Regions from separate parts of the Homo sapiens genome. Here region 2 is linked to region 1. Evidence: promoter capture Hi-C in human tissues and cell types (Jung and others, 2019). All regions are on one chromosome and are shown on one strand. The core of a region is centred on a gene start or on the middle of the fragment in contact, and the rest is flanking DNA. Distances in the headings are between cores, read along the strand shown. Region 1 holds the start of ZNF816 (zinc finger protein 816). Region 2 overlaps LOC122539214 (Zinc finger protein LOC122539214).

Region 1 (3,559 bases), core at 782-3,281:
TGCAAAGTGACCCTGAAGAAGACGACAAGCCCTGCTCCAGTCACACCCGGAAGCTGACTGGTCCTACGCACAGTGGAAGCATGAGGAAGCTCATCGTGGGACTCATTCTTCTTAAATTTTAGACTTGTACAGTAAAGGCTTCAACTGACCTTCCTCAAACTAAGGACTGTTCCCAGTGTATTCATCAGGTCACTGAGATAGGACAGCAAATTAAAACAATCTTTCTGTTCTATAGTTATTATGAATGTACAGGCACGTTAAAAGGATCTTATTTGTATAATTCCACTCAATACAAGGTACGTAGCCCAGGAAATGACAAACCTACTATGGGTTATAACCCATCTAAGCCTCCTGCAACCACCGTTTTTCAAATAAGATTAAGAACTGGTCCTTTCCTAGGTGACACAAGTAAAATAATAACTAGAACAGAAGAAAAAAGAATCCCCAAACAAGAAACTTTAAATTTGATGCTTGTGCAGCCATTAATAGTAACAAGCTCAGATTAAGATGTGGCTCTCTTAACTAAGAAAGGAGCTGCACAGTAGAAAATAAATGTTTGTCATGAGGCAGAGGTCTGTGAAAATTTGCCTGTTGCCCATGTGTTATTTAGGCTACTTAGAAAAATGACAAAAAAGACCCGGTTCACTTTCAAAAAAAAGAAGCCAACCCCTCCTGTGCTAGCAGTCACTGTAACCCACTAGAACTAATAATCACTAATTCCCTAGACCCCCGTTAGAGAAAAAGAGAAGGTGTAATCCTGACGGTCAATAGGACAAGGGTAACCCCCCAAGTTGCCATTTTAGTCCGAGGGGAGGTCCCCAGGCCCTTTCCCAAACCAGTGTTTCAAGCCTTTTATAATGAGCTAAATCTGCCAGCACCAGAGCTTCCAAAAAAGACAAGGAACTTGTTTCTCCAGTTAACGGAAAATGTAGCTCATTCCCTCAATGTTGCTTCTTGTTATGTACGCGGAGGAACTACTGTTGGAGACCGATGGCCTCAGGAAGCCCGAGAGTTGGTGCCCACTGATCCAGTTCCTCACACAATTCCAGCTCAGAAGGCCCAAACTAGCAACTTCTAGGTCCTAAAAACCTCAGTTATTAGACAATACTATGTAGCTAAGGAAAGAAAAAACTTCAGCAACCCCGTAAGAAAGCTCAATTGTCTAGGACAGAAGTTGTATACAACAGCACAACAAGGACAGTCACTTGGTGAGGCTTAAACCACACTGAAAAGAACTCATTACGTAAATTTTCTAAATTACAGACTGCCTAGGCTCATCCAGAATTTCATTGAGACTGGACGGCCCCCGCTGGACTATACTAGTCCAGGCACAGAGACTATACTATACTATACTAGTCCAGGCACAGGCTATACTAGTCTGTAGGCACAGAGACCCATCTCCAACAACAAAGAAGAAAAGTGAAAATCTGGGTCCTGGCTCTGGGAATCTAAGGCCAATTAATGTGAACTTTGCAAAACTAGACCAAAAGGAATAACCCCATCTCCCCACCCGTAGTAACAAAGGATCAAAGGGTACTCTCCCTGTAGCCCTCCCACTTCCACCACGTCTCAGATGGAAAGGGAAAGAGCCCAGGAGTGGCCACAAAGCACCGGCCACCCTGGGGCTGCGGGGCTGCAACGCTGCGCTCCAGGGGCCGACTAGAGCGAGGCTGGGAAGCGCTCTTGCCCAGGGCAAGAATCCAGCTCCGGGTGAGGACTTGAAACAGCGCGAGGCGGGAGGACGCGTCAGAAAGGGTTTTGCTAAGGAAAGTTTCGCGACAGGAGGTGTCTGCACGGCCCCACTGCAGAAAGACCGGGGACGGGACCAGCCTCAGGGCAACTTTAAACTCAAAAGGAAGCGACTCACGGACTCTCACCCGGACGTTTCAATTTGCTCTGGGTTGAGAAAAGAGGGGCCGGAACCTGCAGGTCTGTGGGGACCCCACGTCCCCTATATAGCAGCACCAGACAACTAGGAAACGCACACGCCGCCGTGCAACTTTCAGTCCACGCCATCCGCTTCCGGGTCTGTGCCAATCGGCGCAGGACAGAAGCGGGACCTGGGCCAGATCCCCGAGAGGTGGGCGGGGCCTGGGCGAGGCCGGGGCGGGGTGCAAAGGACAAGGGGCCCGGCGCGGAAGAGAAGAGTCTTGGGCTGGGAGGAGTCCGCGGGGGCGGGAAAGGGGCGGGGCCTGAGCTTTTCTCCATCTCGCTCTCCGCGCCTCTGTTTTCAAGGTTTTAGAGGTGAAACCCGCCAGTGAGGCTGGAGCAGCTCAGCAGTCAGGGAAATAGTACCTCCCTGAGAAGTCGCCGTGTGGCGGTAATTGGATCCGGGAAAGTTCCTTGCTATTGAAATTTATTTTAGCAATTTAATTCCAAAGCCTGGAAGTTGTCTACGGCAGGAATGCAAACTAGAATGCGAAATGCAAAGCCTTGCCTGAGCGAAAGGTACAATTTCATGCTGACGGTCCACAGAACAGAATAGAAATCCTCTCCCTTTCAATTCTCCATTCACTGGAGTGGGAGAGTCCACACTGTGCTCAGCTCCTGAGACTTCCCTAGGGCCACCGTCTGGGGTGCGGAGCAGAGGAGTGTGCTTAAACACAGCAGGGATGCGGGCGGGGTGGCAGGAGTCTGGGGTCCCCGCTACTCAGGAAGCAGGGGCGAGAGGATCGCTGAGCCTGGAGTTCCAGGCCAGCCTGGGCGACAAAGTAAGACCCTCTATCCCAGAGCTCCCTCCTCCGTCTCAATAAACAAAAAAGTGATTTAAAAAAAGCACTGACATTGTAACAGTGCATATAAGTTGCCCAGTTGTTTCTTACGTTTATTATTTCATGCTGCACTTAAAATGAGTTATTTTTGTCGTGGAAAAGAATCAAACTGTAAAATATCTTAAGAGATTTATTCTAAGCTAAATATGAATGACCCTCAGGAGGTCCTGAGAACATGTGTCCAAGGTGATGGGGAACAGCTTGTTCTTAGACATTTTAGGGAGGCATTAGACATCAATCAAATACATTTAAGAAATACGCTGCTTTGGTTCAGAAAGGAGGGGCAACTCAAAGCGGGGACTTCTGGGCTACAGGTAAATTGAAACATTTTCTGATTGACAATTGGTTGAGTTTGTCTAAATACCTGGGATCAACGGAGAGGAAATGTTCACGTTAAGGTAAAAGATTGTGGAGACCAATGTTGTTTTCAAGTCTTCTATTGGCTGCCCTTAGAGATAATAGATGATAAGTGTTTTCTATTCAGACCTTTAAACAGTGCGAGATTCTTACTTAATCTCTTCAGGATTGGTAGGGCCTAGAAGAAAAAGATCTAGCTATGTTAACAGAGATTCTTTACAAATGCACATGTACCCCTCACAAAGAACAGCTTTGCAGGACCATTTCAAAATATGGCACAGAAACATGTTTTGGGGTAAAATATTTTGACTTTCTTCTTTGTCACGTTATTCCAGAGTCAGACTGGAAAGTAAGACAGGATATATAGGACTAAATAAAACCCATCTGATGAGTATTTATGGTTTGTAGGGCATGACTCCCCAGACCCTTTA
Region 2 (3,526 bases), core at 891-3,390, 290 kb before region 1:
TAGGGCCTAGAAGAAAAAGATCTAGCTATGTTAACAGAGATTCTTTGCAGACGCACATGAACCCCTCACAAACGATACCTTTGAAGGACCATTTCAAAATATGGCACAGAAACATGTTTTGAGGTCAAATATTTTGACTTTCTTCTTTGCCATATGTTTTGTGGTTTGTAAGGCATGACCCCCTAGACTCTTTACATAGGAATTTGGACAAGATAAAAAAATCAGAGCTTACACCTCATTCTCAAATACTTTTTTTTACAGTTCTTCCCTGCAATATAACTACTTTTACGATAAATGTTGTTGACAACATAATATGCTAACATCAATAATTTATAAATGTATTGTAATATTAAATTCACTCTATGTGCCTTCTGAAAAAATTAGAAAATGTACCTTTTATCTTCAAGTTGTACTTTTTTTTTTTCCTTCAGACAGGACCTAGTTCTGTCACCCCGGCTGGAATGCAGTGGCAGGAACACTGCTCCTTGCACCCTCAACCTCTGGTGCTCAAGCAATCCTCCCGCCACACCTCCCAACTAGCTGGAGCTGCAGGCCCTCACCACCAAGCCTGGCTAATTTGTTAGTACTTTGTAGAGGGGTGGTCCCACTATGATGCTCAGGCTAGCCTTCAACTCCTGGACTCAAGCGATCAACCCACCTTTGCTTCCCAAAGTGTTGGGGTTACAGGCAAGCCACCACACCCATCCAATTGCAATCTATTTTAGGTGTTTTCTTTGTTATTCTCTCCTGAGTGTTCTATCAGGTGGGAATAACAAAGGCTATAAAATATGCAGTCTTTAAATGTTAGGATTTATTTTCATATAGAGAAAGATCATGAAATATTACTAAGAATACATTGCAGTCAAGTTATTCCGTTTTACTTGGGCCCTGAAAAAATATAACTAAGTTATAAAATTGGCTGGGCACATTGACTCACACCTGTAATCCCAGCACTTTGGGAGGTCGAGGCAGGTGGATGACCCAGAGGTCAGGAGATTGAGACTAGCCTGGCTAACATGGTGAAACCCCATCTGTACTAAAAATACAACAATTAGCTGGGTAAGGTGGCACAAAACTGTAATCTCAGCTACTCAGGAGATTGAGGCAGGAGAATCTCTTGAATCCAGGAGGCAGAGGTTGCAGTGAGCAAAGATCTCACCACAGCTCTCCAGCCTGAGCAAAAGAGTGAGATTCTGTCTCAAAAAAATAAAAATAAAAATAAAATGAAATTATAAATCACCTCATTTCTGCATGTAATACTTTTATGACTATATCTGTAAGTTAACATGTACTATGAACTATGTTTTTCTCCCACATCCCTAGCTATGGAAGAATTCATCTATCAAACACTAGTAATTAGCTAAAATATGATTACATTTAGAAGGGAAATTAGCATATCTAGAATATTAGCAAGTTTAAAAAAGCATAATGTCGTCAGGCATGGTGGCTTGTGCCTGTAATCCGAGCATGATGGGAGGCTGAGGCAGGAGGATGGCTAGTGCCCAACAGTTGGAGTCCAGCCTAGGCAACATAGCACCTCATCTTTATGTTTTAAAAATTAATTAAGTTACTTATTTATTTTTGAGATTGAGTTTGGTTCTTGTTGCCTAGGCTGGGGTGCAATGGCACGGTCTCGGCTCACTGCAACATCTGCCTCCTGGGTTCAAATGATTCTCTTGCCTCAGCCTCCCAGGTAGCTGGGATTATTGGTGCTCGCCATCATGCTGGGTTAATTTTTGTATTTTTAGTAGAGACGGGGTTTCACCGTGTTGGCCAGGCTGGTCTCCAAATCCTGACCTTCCAAAGTGCTGGGATTACAGACATGAGCCACCGTGCATGGCAAAAAAGTTTATTTTAATCAGAAATAATTAATAAATAGAACATGATAATGGGTACAAAAAATAGAATAAGACCTATTATTTCATAACACAACAGAATGACTGTAGTCAATGATTAAATTGTACATATAAAAATGGGGATGGCCAGGTGTGGTGGCTCAAACCTATAAGCCCTGTCTCTACCAAAAATACAAAAAAAACTGGATGTGAGCCTGTAATCCCAGCTACTCAGGAGACTGAGGCATGAGAATCACTTAAACCCAGGGAGCAGAGGTTGCAGTGAGTGGAGATTGCACCACTGCATTCCAGACTGTGCGAAAGAGCTGGACTCCATCTCAAAAAACTAAACAAATGGCTGGGCACAGTGGCTCATGCTTGAATCCCAGCACTTTGGGAGCCAAGATGGGTGGATCCCCTGAGGTCAAGAGTTCGAGACCAGCCTGACCAACATGGTATAACCCTGTCTCTAAAAAAATACAAAATTAGCCGAGGGTGATGGCGCATGCCTGTAATCTCAGATATTCAGGAGGCTGTGGCAGGAGAATCATTTGAGCCAAGAAGGCAGAGGTTGCAGTGAGCTGAGATCGCACCACTACACTCCAGGGTACACAAGAAGAGTGTAACTCCATCACACACACACACACACACAAAATGCTATAAACAGAACATCAGAAAAAAAATATAGAAAGTCACATGTATTTAAAAACCTTAAGCTTTTGAAAGCTGTTTTCCCAAGTAATCAAAAATGAGCCAATAACGATGCAAATATTATCTTTTTGTTTTTTGTTTTTTCTGGAGACAGAGATCATGCAACTGCACTCTAGCCTGGGTGACAGAGTGAGACTCCAACTCAAAAAAATAAATAAATAAAAAATTATTAGGCCAGGAGCAGTGGCTCTTTGGGAGGCTGAGGTGGGCCAATCACCTCAGGTCAAAAGTTCGAGACCAGCCTGGTCAACATGGTGCAACCCTATCTCTACTAAAAATACAAAAAATTAACCGGGCCTGGTGGTGTGTGCCTGTAATCCCAGCTACTAGGGAGGCTGAGGCAGGAGAATTGGTTGAAGCTGAGAGGTGGAGGCCGCAGTGAGTCGAGATCATGCCACTGCCCTGCAGCCTGGGTAACAGAGTGAGACTCCATCTCAAAAAAAAAAAAAAAAAAAAAAATTACCAATGTCAACTGAACTTGGAAAGCACCACACATTTGCACACTCACACAGACACAACCCTCTGATATGGCTCTAGACCAAATCCACAGGTTAAAAAGCCCTCAAATGAACTCTTGGGCCTTAAGCCTTTCAAAAGATCACCTGTTTCCTGTGAGGTTGGGGCTGTGGCCCTGATGTGTGAAGACTTAGGACCATCCTGTCATCATAGAAACCCTAAACAAAATAAAGAAGGAAATTTACCTCAACAATATAAAAGACCATCCATGAAATGACCACAGCTGAAATAACCAATCAGGAAAAATTGAATGCTTTTCCTGTAGGATCTCACATGATGCTAGAACGTTCTCACCCTTTCTATTCAATCAATACTGACTGTCCTAGCCAGAGCAATGAAATAGCAAAAGAAATCAAACTCATCCAAATCAGAAAGAAATAAATAAAATTTTATTTGTTTGTAGATGACACGATCCTCTGTGTAGAAAGTCACAAAGACTCAACCAAAATACAAGTGGAACTAAT

Evidence for each region. The method cuts DNA at HindIII sites, captures the fragments that hold promoters and counts their contacts. A contact is called where the count stands out against the background at its distance.
Region 2: a contact is called between a fragment that was not itself captured here and the fragment with the promoter of ZNF816 in region 1, in 1 of the 25 tissues and cell types used here (liver).

The regions. Positions count from the first base shown.
Region 1 is chr19:52,960,850-52,964,408 of GRCh38, forward strand. It overlaps ZNF816 (zinc finger protein 816), which reads right to left and starts at 2,032. Exons shown (of 4, transcript NM_001202457.3): 1 at 1,878-2,032. It overlaps ZNF816-ZNF321P (ZNF816-ZNF321P readthrough), which reads right to left and starts at 2,032. Exons shown (of 4, transcript NM_001202473.2): 1 at 1,868-2,032. RefSeq lists an enhancer at 1,750-1,999 and a silencer at 2,060-2,259. The HindIII fragment of the contact is 7,894 bases long and covers 1-3,559 here.
Region 2 is chr19:52,671,034-52,674,559 of GRCh38, forward strand. All of the region lies in intron 1 of LOC122539214 (Zinc finger protein LOC122539214), which reads right to left. It also overlaps a transcript of ZNF83 not described here. Among named protein-coding and RNA genes, the nearest start is that of ZNF83, 34 kb to the left of the region's middle. RefSeq lists an enhancer at 2,977-3,476. The HindIII fragment of the contact is 8,097 bases long and covers 1-3,526 here.